Regions from separate parts of the Homo sapiens genome. Here all the other regions are linked to region 4. Evidence: promoter capture Hi-C in 16 types of primary human blood cells and fetal thymus (Javierre and others, 2016). All regions are on one chromosome and are shown on one strand. Each heading gives the region's core, a stretch centred on a gene start or on the middle of the fragment in contact. The rest is flanking DNA. Distances are from core to core; before and after follow the strand shown. Region 1 overlaps P4HA1 (prolyl 4-hydroxylase subunit alpha 1). Region 2 holds the start of ASCC1 (activating signal cointegrator 1 complex subunit 1). Region 3 overlaps DNAJB12 (DnaJ heat shock protein family (Hsp40) member B12). Region 4 holds the start of MCU (mitochondrial calcium uniporter). Region 5 overlaps MICU1 (mitochondrial calcium uptake 1).

The links. The method cuts DNA at HindIII sites, captures the fragments that hold promoters and counts their contacts. A CHiCAGO score of 5 or more calls a contact.
Region 1: a fragment that was not itself captured here is called in contact with the fragment with the promoter of MCU in region 4 in 1 of 17 cell types (fetal thymus); the score reaches 6.3 in fetal thymus.
Region 2: a fragment that was not itself captured here is called in contact with the fragment with the promoter of MCU in region 4 in 1 of 17 cell types (naive CD4 T cells); the score reaches 5.2 in naive CD4 T cells.
Region 3: a contact is called between a fragment that was not itself captured here and the fragment with the promoter of MCU in region 4, in 1 of 17 cell types (neutrophils). The highest score is 5.6, in neutrophils.
Region 5: a fragment that was not itself captured here is called in contact with the fragment with the promoter of MCU in region 4 in 5 of 17 cell types (megakaryocytes, M0 macrophages, M2 macrophages and 2 more); the score reaches 13.1 in megakaryocytes.

The regions. Positions count from the first base shown.
Region 1 is chr10:73,093,685-73,096,613 of GRCh38, reverse strand. All of the region lies in intron 1 of P4HA1 (prolyl 4-hydroxylase subunit alpha 1), which reads left to right. Among named protein-coding and RNA genes, the nearest start is that of P4HA1, 1.7 kb to the left of the region's middle. RefSeq lists an enhancer at 1-367. The HindIII fragment of the contact is 1,464 bases long and covers 525-1,988 here.
Region 2 is chr10:72,213,558-72,216,542 of GRCh38, reverse strand. ASCC1 (activating signal cointegrator 1 complex subunit 1) reads left to right here and starts at 267. Exons shown (of 10, transcript NM_001198800.3): 1 at 267-336. ANAPC16 (anaphase promoting complex subunit 16) reads right to left here and starts at 531. Exons shown (of 4, transcript NM_173473.4): 1 at 405-531. RefSeq lists a silencer at 440-629 and enhancers at 1-846, 750-869, 2,029-2,528, 2,529-2,985. The HindIII fragment of the contact is 667 bases long and covers 941-1,607 here.
Region 3 is chr10:72,345,709-72,348,408 of GRCh38, reverse strand. All of the region lies in intron 1 of DNAJB12 (DnaJ heat shock protein family (Hsp40) member B12), which reads left to right. Among named protein-coding and RNA genes, the nearest start is that of DNAJB12, 7.9 kb to the left of the region's middle. The HindIII fragment of the contact is 5,386 bases long and covers 1-2,700 here.
Region 4 is chr10:72,690,705-72,693,564 of GRCh38, reverse strand. MCU (mitochondrial calcium uniporter) reads right to left here and starts at 1,422. Exons shown (of 8, transcript NM_138357.3): 1 at 1,264-1,422. The coding sequence starts at 1,413. RefSeq lists enhancers at 1-74, 1,745-1,804 and silencers at 835-924, 945-994, 1,085-1,544. The HindIII fragment of the contact is 1,146 bases long and covers 622-1,767 here.
Region 5 is chr10:72,374,635-72,377,515 of GRCh38, reverse strand. It overlaps MICU1 (mitochondrial calcium uptake 1), which reads left to right. Exons shown (of 12, transcript NM_001195518.2): 11 at 1,644-1,733. Among named protein-coding and RNA genes, the nearest start is that of DNAJB12, 21 kb to the right of the region's middle. The HindIII fragment of the contact is 6,523 bases long and covers 1-2,881 here.

The DNA.
Region 1 (2,929 bases), core at 7-2,506, 400 kb before region 4:
GGAGACTCGGCCCCTCTCCCTGCGCCACGCGACTCCCGGCGCCCGCGCTCCTTCGTGCCCCCCTTCCCACCTCTGTCCCTAGTGCGCCTCGGACCGCTGGGGCTGCTGCAGCCTCAGTCCCCGCCCTAGGGACCAGGACTTTCTTGAATTTTCCTTCCCGGGGAGGAATCACTCTGTTGCTTTTTTTTTTTTCCAAGTTCCCCTGCACCTGGTCCTCCCTAACGAGGCTAAGGGGAACGCAAGCGCGGGGCGTGGGCTTTTGGCCGCCACAGCCGCAGATGGTTCGCATGTGGCGGTGGAGAGCGGATTTTAAGGCTTGGAGCTGGATCCGCAGCGCGCCAGGCATTTTTGCCCTATCGAAAGTCGCCGGGAGCTGGGGGGACCTCCCCAGAAAGTTCCGGCTGAACTCATCTGTTGCGCGCAGCGGTGCAGCATTAGCTGCCAGACGTAGCCCGGGGCGCCGAGCTTTCTGCTCGTAGCGCCGAGGAAGTAGGCTCTCAGGTCACCTCGTCGTCAGGGAAGCTTCCTTCCCTCTTCTTCCCCATAACTTTTTTTAAAAAGAGACAAGAGCTCTTCTCTCAATCTCTGTCTCTCTGTCTCTCTCTGCCGAGAATTTGCAGCTTTTAAAAGTCCACATCAGTCCAACAAATTCCATGGTTGTGTGAGGATTTTGAGTTGGATTACATGGCTGGCCCCCGGATGTATGTTTCAATGGGGAGGAAGGATGGTATGATAACTGTGAGACTCTTTCTCCTAAATAATCGACTCTGTTACATACAAATTCAATGTTTAGACACTAACATCTTACGCGTTCCGGATAGAGTGAAGACTCTTGGAATTTTGCACTGTTTTCTTTAAGAAAGGGTTGAAGAAGCAGCTAGATCCTCTTTTAGGAATTGATCTAAAAGGCCAAAGAGACTTGCCAATTTCCACTTAACTGTTTCTGGTTTCTCCGAGAGCAGTGGTTCTCGGACTTTCGCTTGGAATGCACTCGGAGGGGATGAAATAGCCACTACGTGAAGGGGGGAGGGGCAAAGACGTGGCAGCAGCGTTCTTTCATCAATTTTTTACTCTTTTTTTTTTTTTTTTTTAAAGTTCTGGTTAGAAACGTATTTCCCCTTTTAGGTTTAGACGTAGCTTATGAATGAGGCTAGTCTTTTCCTAAAATAATCAGATGAAGAATTCAGTCTGCATAGCAGGAACGTTGGAAGTTAATTTAAAAAACATTTTAAAGGGATTTTTAGAATCAAGTTTCTATGGAGAAAATCGGTATCCTAAGACGATATATTCAAGAAGCTGAAAGTGAACAACCTCAACTATATTTTGTCTTCATGTGAAATGTGAATACACACCCCGTGATTTTTTTTTTTTTTTTTTTTTTTTTTTAGCTTGTGAGCGTAATTTAAGAATCTGAAATGTGAACTTCAAATTTTACTTTTTTCTTTATGTGGGAAAAGAGACTTTATCACTTACCTTTAATAAAATTCATAGTCAGTTTTGGTTTTGGGACATTGTGCCTTAAGTCCTGCCATTGTTTTTGATAGCTGATGACAAATGTTTCTTAGATTTACATAGACTAACTAGGAAAAGGACTATTTCTGTCTCTTTTAAATGGGTAGTGCTGTTTTTATTGACATTTTGAAATGAGTTTTATTTTGAAGTACTGAAAATCAGGACTTTGGTAGGCGGATAATTACATTGGCCATTTTGTGTTTTGGTAACTTAGATGGTAAAACAGTTGAAAAATGTGTACAACTTTTAATTATGCCAAAAAAATTAGTGCAAAAGACTATTGAAAAAAAGTTTTATATTGCCTTGTAGTCTGGGTTGTTGCAGATGAATCTTGGCTTTTTGGCAAGGAGCTGTTAACCTTTTCTATTAGTGCAGAATAAGTTGTATACTGAAAAGCAGTGTTTTTCAGTAGGGCAATTAAGTTCAAACGGCATTTATTCCAGAGATGCAGCAAGAGCTGGGACAGCCATAAAGCTTGTGAGCCTTCCTTTCTGTGGAAGGAATGCTTTATTTTACTTAGCAACCAGTTATCAACTAGGATATAATTATTGCTCTTGAATTGACCTGTGAGATACATAATAGTGGTTCTCAAACTATTTTAAGGTCATGAAATCCTTTGAGAATCTGATGAAAGGTGTGGTCCTATGTCAGAAAATGCAAATACACCCTACATGGAATTTTGTATGTCACTTCCTGCCCCCCCACTCAAGTCCATTCATGAACTTTATTATAAGAACCCCTAAAAAGTAAGAGATGTGAAGTTACTCTCTAAGGGTATCTAGGTGTCTTGAGGCAGTATTGAATGTTTCTGAAAATCGAGCTGGGCATGTAAGTCTGACTGGACTTGTATATGTGGGTGACCCTAATACATTTTTGCCAAAAGGGTTTTAACAAAAGTTAATAGGTTGTTAGAATTGTTGAAATGCTAAATTGTCTAGTCTGTGAAAGTATATCACATTGCATGCCCTCTCCTATATATGGTAACTTAACTTTGGTTTTCCATTCTGAAAGTGGAACAGGCTTGGAAGTAAACAAAAATAAATTGCATAGGCTCTTGGCATTAAACTTTATTGCTTTTCTTGCAGTGAGATCTTGAATCTTGTAATTAAACCATAATGTGTTGTGTGTGTATAAATATATGAATATATATAAAAAATCCAAATAAAATGAGTATGTGTGTGTGTGTGTGTGTGTATATATATATATATATATATATATATATATATATTTTTTTTTTTTTTTTTTTTTTTTTTTTTTTTGAGATGGAGTTTCACTCTGCCACCCAGGCTGGAGTGCAGTGGTGCAATCTCGGCCCACTGCAAGCTCCACCTCCCGGGTTCACGCCATTCTCCTGCCTAAGCCTCCCGAGTAGCTGGGACTACAGCCGCCCACCATCACGCCCAGCTAATTTTTTGTA
Region 2 (2,985 bases), core at 25-2,524, 480 kb after region 4:
AAACAGCTGGATTACAACCCAAACCAAATAGATGCCGCAGCTGTAACGGGGGGGGGGGGGGGCGGGAACGGGGCGGGGGTGGGCGTGGAGAAAAAGTGGCCAGAGAGGGGAGCGCTCAGAACACCAGCGGCTCCCAAGCTAACTCCTAGCCACTTTTCCCACCCAGCTGGGTCCCCAGGAAACTACGCCATCGGCGCTGTCCCACTGCGCAGGCGCCAGCCCTCGGCCCGCATGCGCACTCGGTCAAACCCGGCCTGGGGAAATTTCCTATCGCACGTCTGCTGCAGCAGTCTCCTGTTTCTCCTCCTACCTTCTCCATTTTTCTAGTCCCTGCAGGTAGGATCCTGGGGGTTAACTCCCTTTTCACCAAGCTCCCGAGGGCCCTCGACCCCTCGGCCTCTTACCTCAGCGGCTTTAGCACTTTCCCCTACAGCCCCACCCCCAGGACCAGCCTGAGTGGCTGCGCTCACCACGACGAGGACCGCGGCGTGTTCGCCCCCCAACAGACGGAGCCAGCGGCGAAGGCGGCGTGCGCGCGCCCGTGCCGTGGTGGGCGTGGCCGGGGCGGAGACGCGAGGAGGGGAGCAGAGAACGCGCTCGCGTAGAGGAATTCCGGGTCCTCCTCCTCGCCCTACCTTGGTTTACCTGCAGCCGCCTAGTCCTCTTCTCCTTCTCTTTGATGATTCAGGGCCTCGGCTTCCCTCACGATATTGCAGAAAGACACAGCTTTCCTCTTCCTCTCCAAACCACCTCGAAGCAGGGTTAAGTTGGTTATTCCTCTCTTTCCTTCCGAGCAGTCTCGTAGCGCAGGGCCATGTAGGACAGGTAGATGCTGCATTTGCTGTCTCCGCGACAACTGCCTGTTCTTCCGGAGCTCGTGGTCTGAGGGCCCGACTTTCATCTTAGTCTGTTTTTGTGGGGAACATTTTTTTTTTAAGCTTTTCCTTTGAAAGTCTTTTTTCGTTGAGAACTTTAGAGGCCTCGGGGAATAGGCCACTGGGTTGTGATGTCATCGAGTATTGCTAATGATGTGCCCTTTTCCTCCATCCATGTCGGTTTACCTTCTGTGTTGTTATTTCTCACGAAACCTCTTCTTGGTTCTGTAAGCGCACAACTCATCAATTATTATTTTATTTATTTTTTTGAGACGAAGTCTCGCTCTGTCGCCCAGGCTGGAGTGCAGTGGCGCGATCTCAGCTCACTGCAACCTCCGCCTCTCAGGCTTAAGCCATTCTCGTGCCTCAGCTTTCCCAGTAGTTGGGACTACAGGCGCCCGCCACCACACCCGGCTACTTTCTGTATTTTCAGTAGAGACGGGGTTTCATCATGTTGGCCTGGCTGGTCTCGAACTCCTGGCCTCAGATGATCCGCCTCGGCCTCCTAAAGTGCTGGGATTACAGACGTGAGCCACCGCGCCCACGTTGGCTTGAACATTAGTGTATTTAGTAAGGATCAACTTGTTTTCTTTGGAACTTTTAAGTATTTTGGGCTTCAAGACTATCTAAGCTGTACGTGGTAGGAATATTGGTTGAATTTAACCTCAGCTAGCCTGTAAGGAACCTTTGTTTCCTAAATTATTGATTCATTAAGTGATGTGACCAGAAGCTTGGCTTCGCAGTGAGCGATGTGCATTTTGTTGGGCAGTGGCCTGTGGAAATTGGATTCCCCCCTTCAGCAGTATGTTGGTCTGAGAACCATATTGGTTAAGTTGTTATTTTAACTGTGCTTTAACAGACAACTGGAACTGATTGTTTGGTATGAATTTCTAGCACCTCTAAAAGTACTTAGGGGCTTTTTTTTTTCTGGATGGTTAAGTGTATTAAATATCCCTCATTGTCTTAATTATCTTGCTAGATAGAAAGAGTTTGCTGGGCGCAGTGGCTCACGCCTGTAATCCCAGCACTTTGGGAGACTGAGGCGGGTGGATCACCTGAGGCCAGGAGTTCCAGACCAGCCTGGCCAACATGACGAAACCCCATCTCTACTAAAAATACAAAAAATTAGCCGGGGGTGGTGGCAGGGGCCTGTAATTCCAGCAACTGGGAAGGCTGAGGCAGGAGAATCGCTTAAACCCGGGAGGCAGAGGTTGCAGTGAGCTGAGATTGTGTCATTGCACTCCAGCCTGGGCAACAAGAGCAATACACCGTCTCAAAAAAAAAAAAAAAAAAAAAAAAAGAGATATTGTGCAAATGGTTAGATAACCACTGAAGTTTGCATTTTACTCATTAGGTTAAAGTAATAAAGAGACCTTTATTCTCTCTTTCAAAGCCATGGACAGGCTGTGTTTATATACGGGCATTTATAATGCCTTTTATTTTTAATCTCTCTTTTTTTTGTTGTTGTTGTTGTTTTTTGAGAGACAGGGTTTCGCCATGTTGCCCAGGCTGGTTTCAAACTCTTGGGCTCAAGCAGTCCTCCTTCCTCAACCTCCCAAAGTGCTGGGAGTACAGGTGTAAGCCACCATGCCTGGCCCTTTTCTCTTTCTCTTTTTCTTTTTCTTTTTTTAAGACGGAGTTGTGCTCTGTTGCCCAGGCTGGAGTGCAGTGGCGCGATCTTAGCTCACTGCAACTTCCGCCTCCTGGGTTCAAGAGATTCTCCTGCCTCAGCCTCCCGAGTAGCTGGGATTACAGGCACGTGCCACCATGCCTAGCTAATTTTTGTATTTTTAGTAGAGATGGGGTTTCACTATGTTGGTCAGGCTGGTCTTGAACTCCTGACCTTGTGATCTGCCTGCCTCGGCCTCCCAAAGTGCTGGGATTACAGGTGTGAGCCACCACACCTGGCCCTCTTTTTCTTTTTTTAGAGACGAGGTCTCACTATGTTCATAAGGCTGATCTTGAACTCCAGCCTCAACCAATCCTCCCACCTTGGCCTCCCAAAGTGCTGGGATTACAGATGTGAACCACTGCTCCCCTCCCTTCCTTCTTTTTTTTTTTTTTTTAAGAGTGTATGCCTTTTAATCATTTTTGGGGGGGGGGTGATAAA
Region 3 (2,700 bases), core at 127-2,626, 350 kb after region 4:
TGTTTTCCCAGCTGGTCAGCTTGTCAGAGGCTTTAGGATTTTACTACCCAGGGCGCTGGGGCCCAGGCCTGACTGAGGTTTCGTGCCTGGAATAAATGGACACAGGGACCTGCTGCCAGAGACTTGGGCCCTTCCTCATTTAATCTGCAGGAACCACAGGCTTGTTTTTGCTTGCTTTTGTTTTTTTGAGATGGAGTCTTGCTCTGTTGCCCAGGCTGGAGTGCAGTGGCACAATCTCAGTTCACTGCAACCTCTGCCTCCCGGGTTCAAGCGATTCTGTGCCTCAGCCTCCCGAGTAGCTGGGATTACAGGCGCCTGCCACCACGCCGGCTAATTTTTGTATTTTTAGTAGAGACGGGGTTTCACCATGCTGGCCAGGCTGGTCTCAAACTCCTGACCTCAGGCGATCTGCCCGCCTCAGCCTCCCAGAGTGCTGGGATTACAGGTGTGAGCCACCATGCCTGGTGGGCTTGGTTGTTTTTGTTTTTGTTTTTCTGAGACAGAGTCTCATTCTATTGCCCAGGCTGGAGTGCAATGGCATGATTTCGGCTCATTGCAACCTCCGCCTCCCAGATTCAAGCCATCCTGCTGCCTCAGCCTCCCTAGTAGCTGGGATTACAAGCGCCCACCACCATGTTCGGCTAATTTTTGTATTTTAGTAGAGACGGGGTTTCACCATGTTGGCCAGGCTGGTCTTGAACTCCTGACCTTGTGATTCGCCCGCCTCGGCCTCCCAAAGTGTTGGGATTACAGGCGTGAGCCACAGCGCCCAGCCGGGCTTGGTTTTCAATAGCCATGATGCTGCCGAGGGTGATAGTTAATGTCCTGTATAGACTCCAGACATTGAAGAGGACATTTGGCATGGCCAACCACTTGCATTAGAAAAATGTGAAAAATAGCAAGTTGTGAGCACAGCAGATACTTCTTTTGGTCTCCTACCATCTGTGTCCCCCTTGGGCAAACTCATTTCCCCCATTCCTCTTTACAGCTAAGCAAAGGCCTCCAGGAAGGCTTCCTGACTGATCCCACCTGAAACAGAGGGTCCTGCTAAGCGGGGTCCCCTTTGCAGGGTACTTTTCCCAGCTTGGCACTCAACATGCCAAGTCTGTTAAACTCACTACTTTGAGATCTTAAAAATCTGAAGGGTTGACTGGGCACAGTGGCTCATGCCTGTAATCCCAGCACTTTGGGAGGCCAAGGCAGGCGGATCACTTGAGGTCAGGAGTTCGAAACCAGCCTGGCCAACATGGTGAAACCTCATCTCTATTAAAAATACAATTAGCCGGCGTGGTGGTGTGCACCTGTAATTCCAGCTACTTAGGAGGCTGAGGCGGGAGAATCGCTTGAAACCGGGAGGCAGAGGTTGCAGTGAGCTGAGATCATGCCATTGCACTCCAGCCTGGGCAACAGAGTGAGACTCCGTCTCAAAAAAGAAAAAAAAAAAAAACCAATGGTAAAAATAGGGAGTAGTGCAGTGGACTGAATATTTTACTTATTCAAAATGTGGTGCAATGCAAACATATTTGCAGATTTGAATGAGTTCAGTAGAAAAAAATGGATTCATAAGTTGGATTCATAAAAGCAAAAAGCAGAGTAAAACCAAATACACTGAAAGAAATAGCAATTAAAGTAGTATTAAATGAACTCTAGCAAGGCACGGTGGCTCATGCCTGTAATCCCAGCACTTTGGGAACCCGAGGTGGGCAGATCACTTGAGGTCAGGAGTTCGAGACCAGCCTGGCCAACATGGTGAAACCCCATCTCTACTAAAAATACAAAAATTAGGCCGGGCACGGTGGCTCACACCTGTAATCCCAGCACTTCGGGAGGCCGAGATGGGTGGATTGCTTGAGGTCAGGAGTTCAAGACCAGTCTGGCCAACGTGTTGATATCCCATCTCTACTAAAATACAAAAATTAGCTGGGCATGGTGCTGGGCGCCTGTAATCCCAGCTACTAGGGAGGCTGAGGCGGGAGAATTGCTTGAACCCAGGAGGCGGAGGTTGCAGTGAGCTAAGATCATGCCACTGCACTCCAGCCTGGGCAACAGAGCAAGACTCCGTGTCAAAAAAAAAAAAATTAGCCAGGCGTGGTGGCACGTGCCTGTAGTACCAGCTACTCAGGAGGCTGAGGCATGAGAATCACTTGAACCTGGGAGGTAGAGGTTGTAGTGAGCTGAGATCGCACCACTGCACTCCAGCCTGGGCAACAGAGTGAGACTCTATCTCAAATAAACAAACAAATAAAAAAAAATAACTCTAAATAAAGTACTATAGGGTTTATTAATAAAACCAAGTGTGCTTTTGGAAGACTATCAGAATATCAGAATTCTGCCTAAATTTATTAAGAAAAGAGATATATGTATAAGTATACTATCTGAAAAATAAAGCAATTACTACAGATTTATCCATGAATTATGTAGAATTTTATGTCAATTTTTATTAACAAAATTAATTTTGTTCATGTAAAACGAAAAAGACCTCTATCCTGCCTACTTTTTTTTTTTTTTTTTTTTTGAGACAGATCCTTGCTCTGTCGCCCAGGCTGGAGTGCAGTGGCACAATCTTGCTAATCTCCACCTCCTGGGTTCAAGCAATTCTCATGCCTCAGCCTCTCAAGTCTCTCGAGTAGCTGGGATTACAGGCGCCCACCACTATCTCCAGCTAAATGTCTTTTGGGGTTTTTTTTTTTGTATTTTTAG
Region 4 (2,860 bases), core at 173-2,672:
ACTCGATTTTGATGCTGTCATTGGCCTTAGGAGTATCCTCTCCGAAGAGCTCCAGTTCAGTTTCCTCTTAAGAGTTATGATCAGAACAAGGCAGGCGATGTGTTTATTGAGGGTTGAAGGTACTATTGTAGTTTCTCCTATCAAGCTGTTTGCAGTGATCCTCCAATAATCACACTATACAACTCAGCCCCAGCAAATAAAACCTACATTCTTTCCCTCAGAGCTGGCCAGAGACCAACACATATAGGTCTAGAAAGTCCAAGGGAAGGAAACCTCCTGACTTGTTAGGTTAAGAACTCCATGCCAAATTCATCTCTTGCAATTGAAAAAAGAAATCTCTCTCACACTCTGTCTCTCTCTCTCTCACACACACACACACACACACACACACTCACCCAAGAGTGTTCAAACAGAAATCCTCTTTTTCTGCCAGCCAATGAAACCCAGCAACAACTGGTTAATACAACCACCAAATCTCTGCCTCTGTCAACAACTTACCATATTCGCTTCTCCTGTGCCTGCTGACCACCCTTCCCGCTTCAGGCACGCGTGAACACGCTTATACAGTAGCCCTCGAAAGGACCCCCAAAAGCACCTTTAAGGACCCAAGAGGATGAAGCTTGCCTCCTGAAGCAATGCAGCATCCATCTCGAGGGAGCCGGTTCCCCATGCACACACACAGAGGAAGTCACAGAGGGGAATAAAGTTTGATTTTCCTTCCTGCCCGACCCCTCGGGGACGAGAGAGGACGAGGGGCGGCCCCGCCGGGGTCCTGGGCTGCTCTCCGGGGCAGCTCCCAGCAGCATGGCACTGCCACTCTCCTGGCACACACAAGGCGGCCGCGGCAACTCAGAACTCCCCAACCCGCCCGGAGGAGGAGGGAAAGGGGACAACTTCCATCTGGCTCCGTTCAGGGAGCCTTGGGGCAGGGCTGTTAAGAACGAAGAAGGGAGGGAACGCGATTGGGGGCGAGTCGGGGAGAGGTTCAAGTCCCGTGCCTTCCCCGCCCTGGTGTCCCCAGTCCTGCGGGAACATCCCCGCCGTCGCCCCTCCTCCTCCTCTCGGCTTCCTCCCGCCCGCCCTCCCTTCCTGGTCGCCGCCGCAGGCGCCTGAAGGGCACGGCGGCTCCTCGGTGCCCGGCAACCTCCGGAGCGGCCGGGAGTTGAGGTAACTCGCCTGCTGCCCCGGCGGCCTGCCCGCCGGCGGCTCCCACACGCCAGCGCCGCCCCGCCCTCCCCGGAGCCTCCGGGCGCGCTCGCTCACCGTCCGGTGGTGCTGCTGCTGCCGGTGGCGGCTGACGCCCAGCCCAGGGAAGCAGCCGGCAGTCAGCGCCCCGCAGCCGCCGGCGCCCCCGCCGCCGCCGCCCCGAGAGGAGAGGAGCAGCAGGAGCGATCTACCTGCGGCGGCCGCCATCTCTCAACTGGAAACGGCGCCGACCCAGGCAGCGCAGCGGACGGCCAGGGCGGAGCTAAGACCCGCCACTCACCGACGCCGGGCCAACTAAAGCCCTTGACTGAGTTGATGAGGCGGGGCTTCCTGCAAGGTCCAATCGACAGGCGGGAGAACCACACTGGAAGCTGCCAGTCCCTTCCAGAGTTACCTATAGTGGGACATAGTCAATTACGGGCAAATTCTAGGGAACCCATAATTGACACCCAAACCCGTGAAAATAACAGCAATAGAGATGGCATGTTCAGTTCGGCTAATCTTCACCAACAATAGAGCTATGATAAGAGTAACGGGGGATATAGATATTTGTGAAAAGCTTTGTTCGAAGTTGAGTTCTAAGTGAGTGTTCTAAGTTGGCAAAATAGGCACCAAATTAATAACCATTAACGGTGTATGCTGTAACTCTCAACTACACGCCTAGAATTATCATTCATAACTGATAATATTTAGATATGCTGAAATTAACTCTACATCACGGAGTGATCTAATGACTGTGATGCGTAGCATAATATAGGAGAGGTAGAACGATTACAATATCAAAGTCCCAGAATGAGTACATGCCTTCAGAGTGAATTAACTGACGTGTATACATCTCAAATACCCAATTCATTTTTACAGCACCTTTATACGGATATTCTCACACTCTCCAGAAACAGCACTATTTTATCATATTTGACTTTGTGTGCATTTACAGAAACAGAACACATTAATAACGTAATAAAAAATCATGTAAGGCCGGGCGCGGTGGCTCACGCCTGTAATCCCAGCACTTTGGGAGGCAGAGGCGGGCGGATCACGAGGTCAGGAGATCGAGACCATCCTGGCTAACACGGTGAAACCCCATCTGTACTAAAAATACAAAAAATTAGCCAGGCGTGGTGGCGGGCGCTTATAGTCCCAGCTATTCCGGAGGCTGAGGCAGGAGAATGGTGTGAACCCGGGAGACGGAGCTTGCAGTGAACCGAGATCGGGCCATTGCACTCCAGCCTGGGCGACACAGCAAGACTCCATCTCAAAAAAAAAAAAAAAAATTCATGTAAAAGGCTATTTTAATGATGCTTCATAATTTTGCCGAAATAGTTATCAGAATACGCTTTGGAATAACAAACACTTTCTCTTGAAAAACACTTCTTTCCACTTAAACTCACAATGAGGGCTCCTTGAATACTGCCTAAGAAAGATTTTGGGTCCTGAATTTCCTTAGAAGAGTATTTCCTTGCTAGCTGTTTATTATTATGAGCTGATTAAATTCTCACACCTCTTTTTAAAATCTGGAGCAGGAAAATAGTTTGGGAAGCAAATACAAGCATTATTTTAAATTTTGGAAAACATCTTTGTAGTGTAGCCTTAGATGATAAATTTAAAACAAAAACAAAACACACACATAAATACGAAGAAAATGTTATCACTT
Region 5 (2,881 bases), core at 61-2,560, 320 kb after region 4:
AAGAGAAAACGGCAAGAGAAAAGTGATTTTTTGCTGAGGTCTAAAAATATATATTTTTTAAAAGAAAGATATGCATCCTGAACTATTGGCCGGGCCCGCTGAGTGTGGTGGCTCACCCCTGTAATCCCAGCACTTTGAGAGGCCGAGGTGGGCAGATCACCTGAGGTCAGGAGTTCAAGACCACCCTGGCCAACATGGTGAAACCCCATCTCTACTAAAAATATAAAAATTAGCCAGGCGTGATGGCAGGCACCAGTAGTCCCAGCTACTTGGGAGGCTGAAGCAGGAGAATTGTTTGAACCCGGAAGGCAGTGGTTGCAGTGAGCCGAGATCGTGCCACTGCACTCCAGTCTGGCGGACAGAGTAAGACTCTGTCTCAAAAAAAAAAAGAAAGATACGCATCCTGAACTGTTAAGACAAGGGCCAGTGCATATACCAATGGGCTCAGTTGGAAGAAGTCTGGTGCAAAACCAGTAGGGAGGAGGGACAGAGTTGGGCAGGGAGGGCTCACTGTGCAGGCACTTAGCTGTCATTCACCCACCAAGGCGTGAAGCCTTAGTGTACTCACACCACAGACAAGCCTCCTTGTTCCCACCACCCATTTATATATTTCTATAAATATATATATAAATATAAAAATATATATGGCATAAAATGTGCCATTATAACCATTTTTAAATATACAAGTCAGTGGAATTACATTAATTACATTCACAATGTTGTACAACCATCATCACTATTTTCAAAATTTTTCCATCACCCCAGACAGAAATTCTGTATACATAAAGCAGTAACTCCCCATTCCCCTCAGCCCACAATAACCTCTAATCTACTTTCTGTCTATAAATTGAATATCAGGCACTTTTTATTTTTTGAGACAGTGTCTCACTCTGTTACATAGAGTGTTACTCCAGTACAGTGGCGCCATCTCAGCTCATTGAAACCTCTGCCTCCTGGGCTCAAGCTATCCTCTCACCTCAGCCTCCCAAGTAGCTGGTGCACACCACCATGCCGGGCTAATTTTTTGTATTTTTTGTAGAGACAGGGTTTCGCCATGTTGCCTCGGAATCCCAAAGTGCTGGGATTACAGGTATGAGCCACCGCGCCTGGCCAGCCTAGGCATTCTTAATTAACTATATATACCTCCTAAACTGTAGCAGCAGTAGAAAAGAACAGAACTTGAGGTGAAAAGGAGGGAGCTTATGAATAAAAACTCAATTATCATTTTTTCTTTTTTTTTTTGAAACGGAGTCTCACTCTCCCAGGCTGGAGAGCAGTGGCGTGATCTCAGCTCACTGCAACCTCCGCCTCTCGGGTTCAAGCAATTCTCTGCCTCAGCCTCCCAAGTAGCTGGGATTACAGGCACCGGCTAATTTTTTGTATTTTTAGTAGAGACAGGGTTTCACCATCTTGGCCAGGCTGGTCTTGAAGTTCTGGCCTCAGGTGATCCACCCTCCTCGGCCTCCCAAAGTGCTGGAATTACAGGCATGAGCCACTGTGGCCAGCCTAACTTATCATTTTCTTAAATGTGACTTAAATGCAGTTGAAAACTTGTATTATGACTGAGTCGTTTTATCCCCTGAATCAGAGAAAGCAAAATGAAAATCCCTCTGCTGTGCTAATGCACCTCTTTCTTTTTTCAGTGACCATGCAGCAGGTGGCCAGGACAGTGGCTAAAGTGGAGCTCTCAGACCACGTGTGTGATGTGGTGTTTGCACTCTTTGACTGTGATGGTGAGTGGGGCCCTCTGGAGCCCGGAGGGGAAACAGCCTAGCTGCCCTTAGAGGCCCTTGTGTATAATGGAGCCTTGCGGACAGCATCTGTGTACCAGCCCATCCTCTTCAAGCTACCCACCTTTCTCACATTAGCACCTCAGCCCTTGGCATGATGATACTGAGAAATCGAACCCCTGGCCCTGGCTTCTGTTTTCCATTTCTTCTTCTTATAATTCCAATATGCCTATAGGCCTAAATTAATTTATGACCATAAGCATCTTAAAAATGGAAACAAAAATGTCAGACTCAACTTGCTACTTAGCGGATACGGAGCACTCAGGTATCTGAGTGTCTTTAGAAAGAAGGCAGTACTGATCTCTCCACCACCCAGGGCACATTCCAGCCAGTTGCATTCCATCTCCATAGCATTCCAGCTCCACACAGTGGTCTGTTGTGTCTGTGGCCACTCTGCTCTGTCATTTAGCCCATTCAAGAGATCTGGTTCTGGTTTGACCTTGGCATTATTTTTTAGGTATGGTAGCTGATATACTAATAACAACAATAACAACGGATGCTTACACTTTTTCAATGCTTACTATGAGCCAGAAAGTTAATCTGCTCATTTAATCTTCTGACCTAGGTATTGTTATTGACCACTTTTTACTGATGAGAAAGCTGAGACTCAGAGAGGTTAAGTAGATTTCCTAAGGTCACAAAGATAATAGTATTTGGGAGGCTGAGGCAGGCGGATCACCTGAGGTCAGGAGCTCAAGACCAGCCTGGCCAACATGGTGAAACCCCGTCTCTATTAAAAATACAAAAATTAGCCAGGCACAGTGGTGCGTGCCTGAAATCCCAGCTACTCGAGAGGCTGAGGCAAGAGAATCACTTGAACCCGGGAGGCAGCAGGGAGCAGAGATCGTGCCACAACACTCCAGCCTGGGCGACAGAGCGAGACTCTATCTCAAAAAAAAAAAAAAAAAAAAAAAAAAGATAATAGTAGATGGCAAAACCAGGATTTGAACTAAAACTGTACTGCCCCCTCTGTTTTATTTACTATATTACCACCCTCTCTTACCCCACAGCCAGTATTTGTTGTTCATCATCCTCCAGAAAGCTGGGCTAATGGAATTCAAGAGCCTGCTCAAAAGCTCCAGCCTATGGAG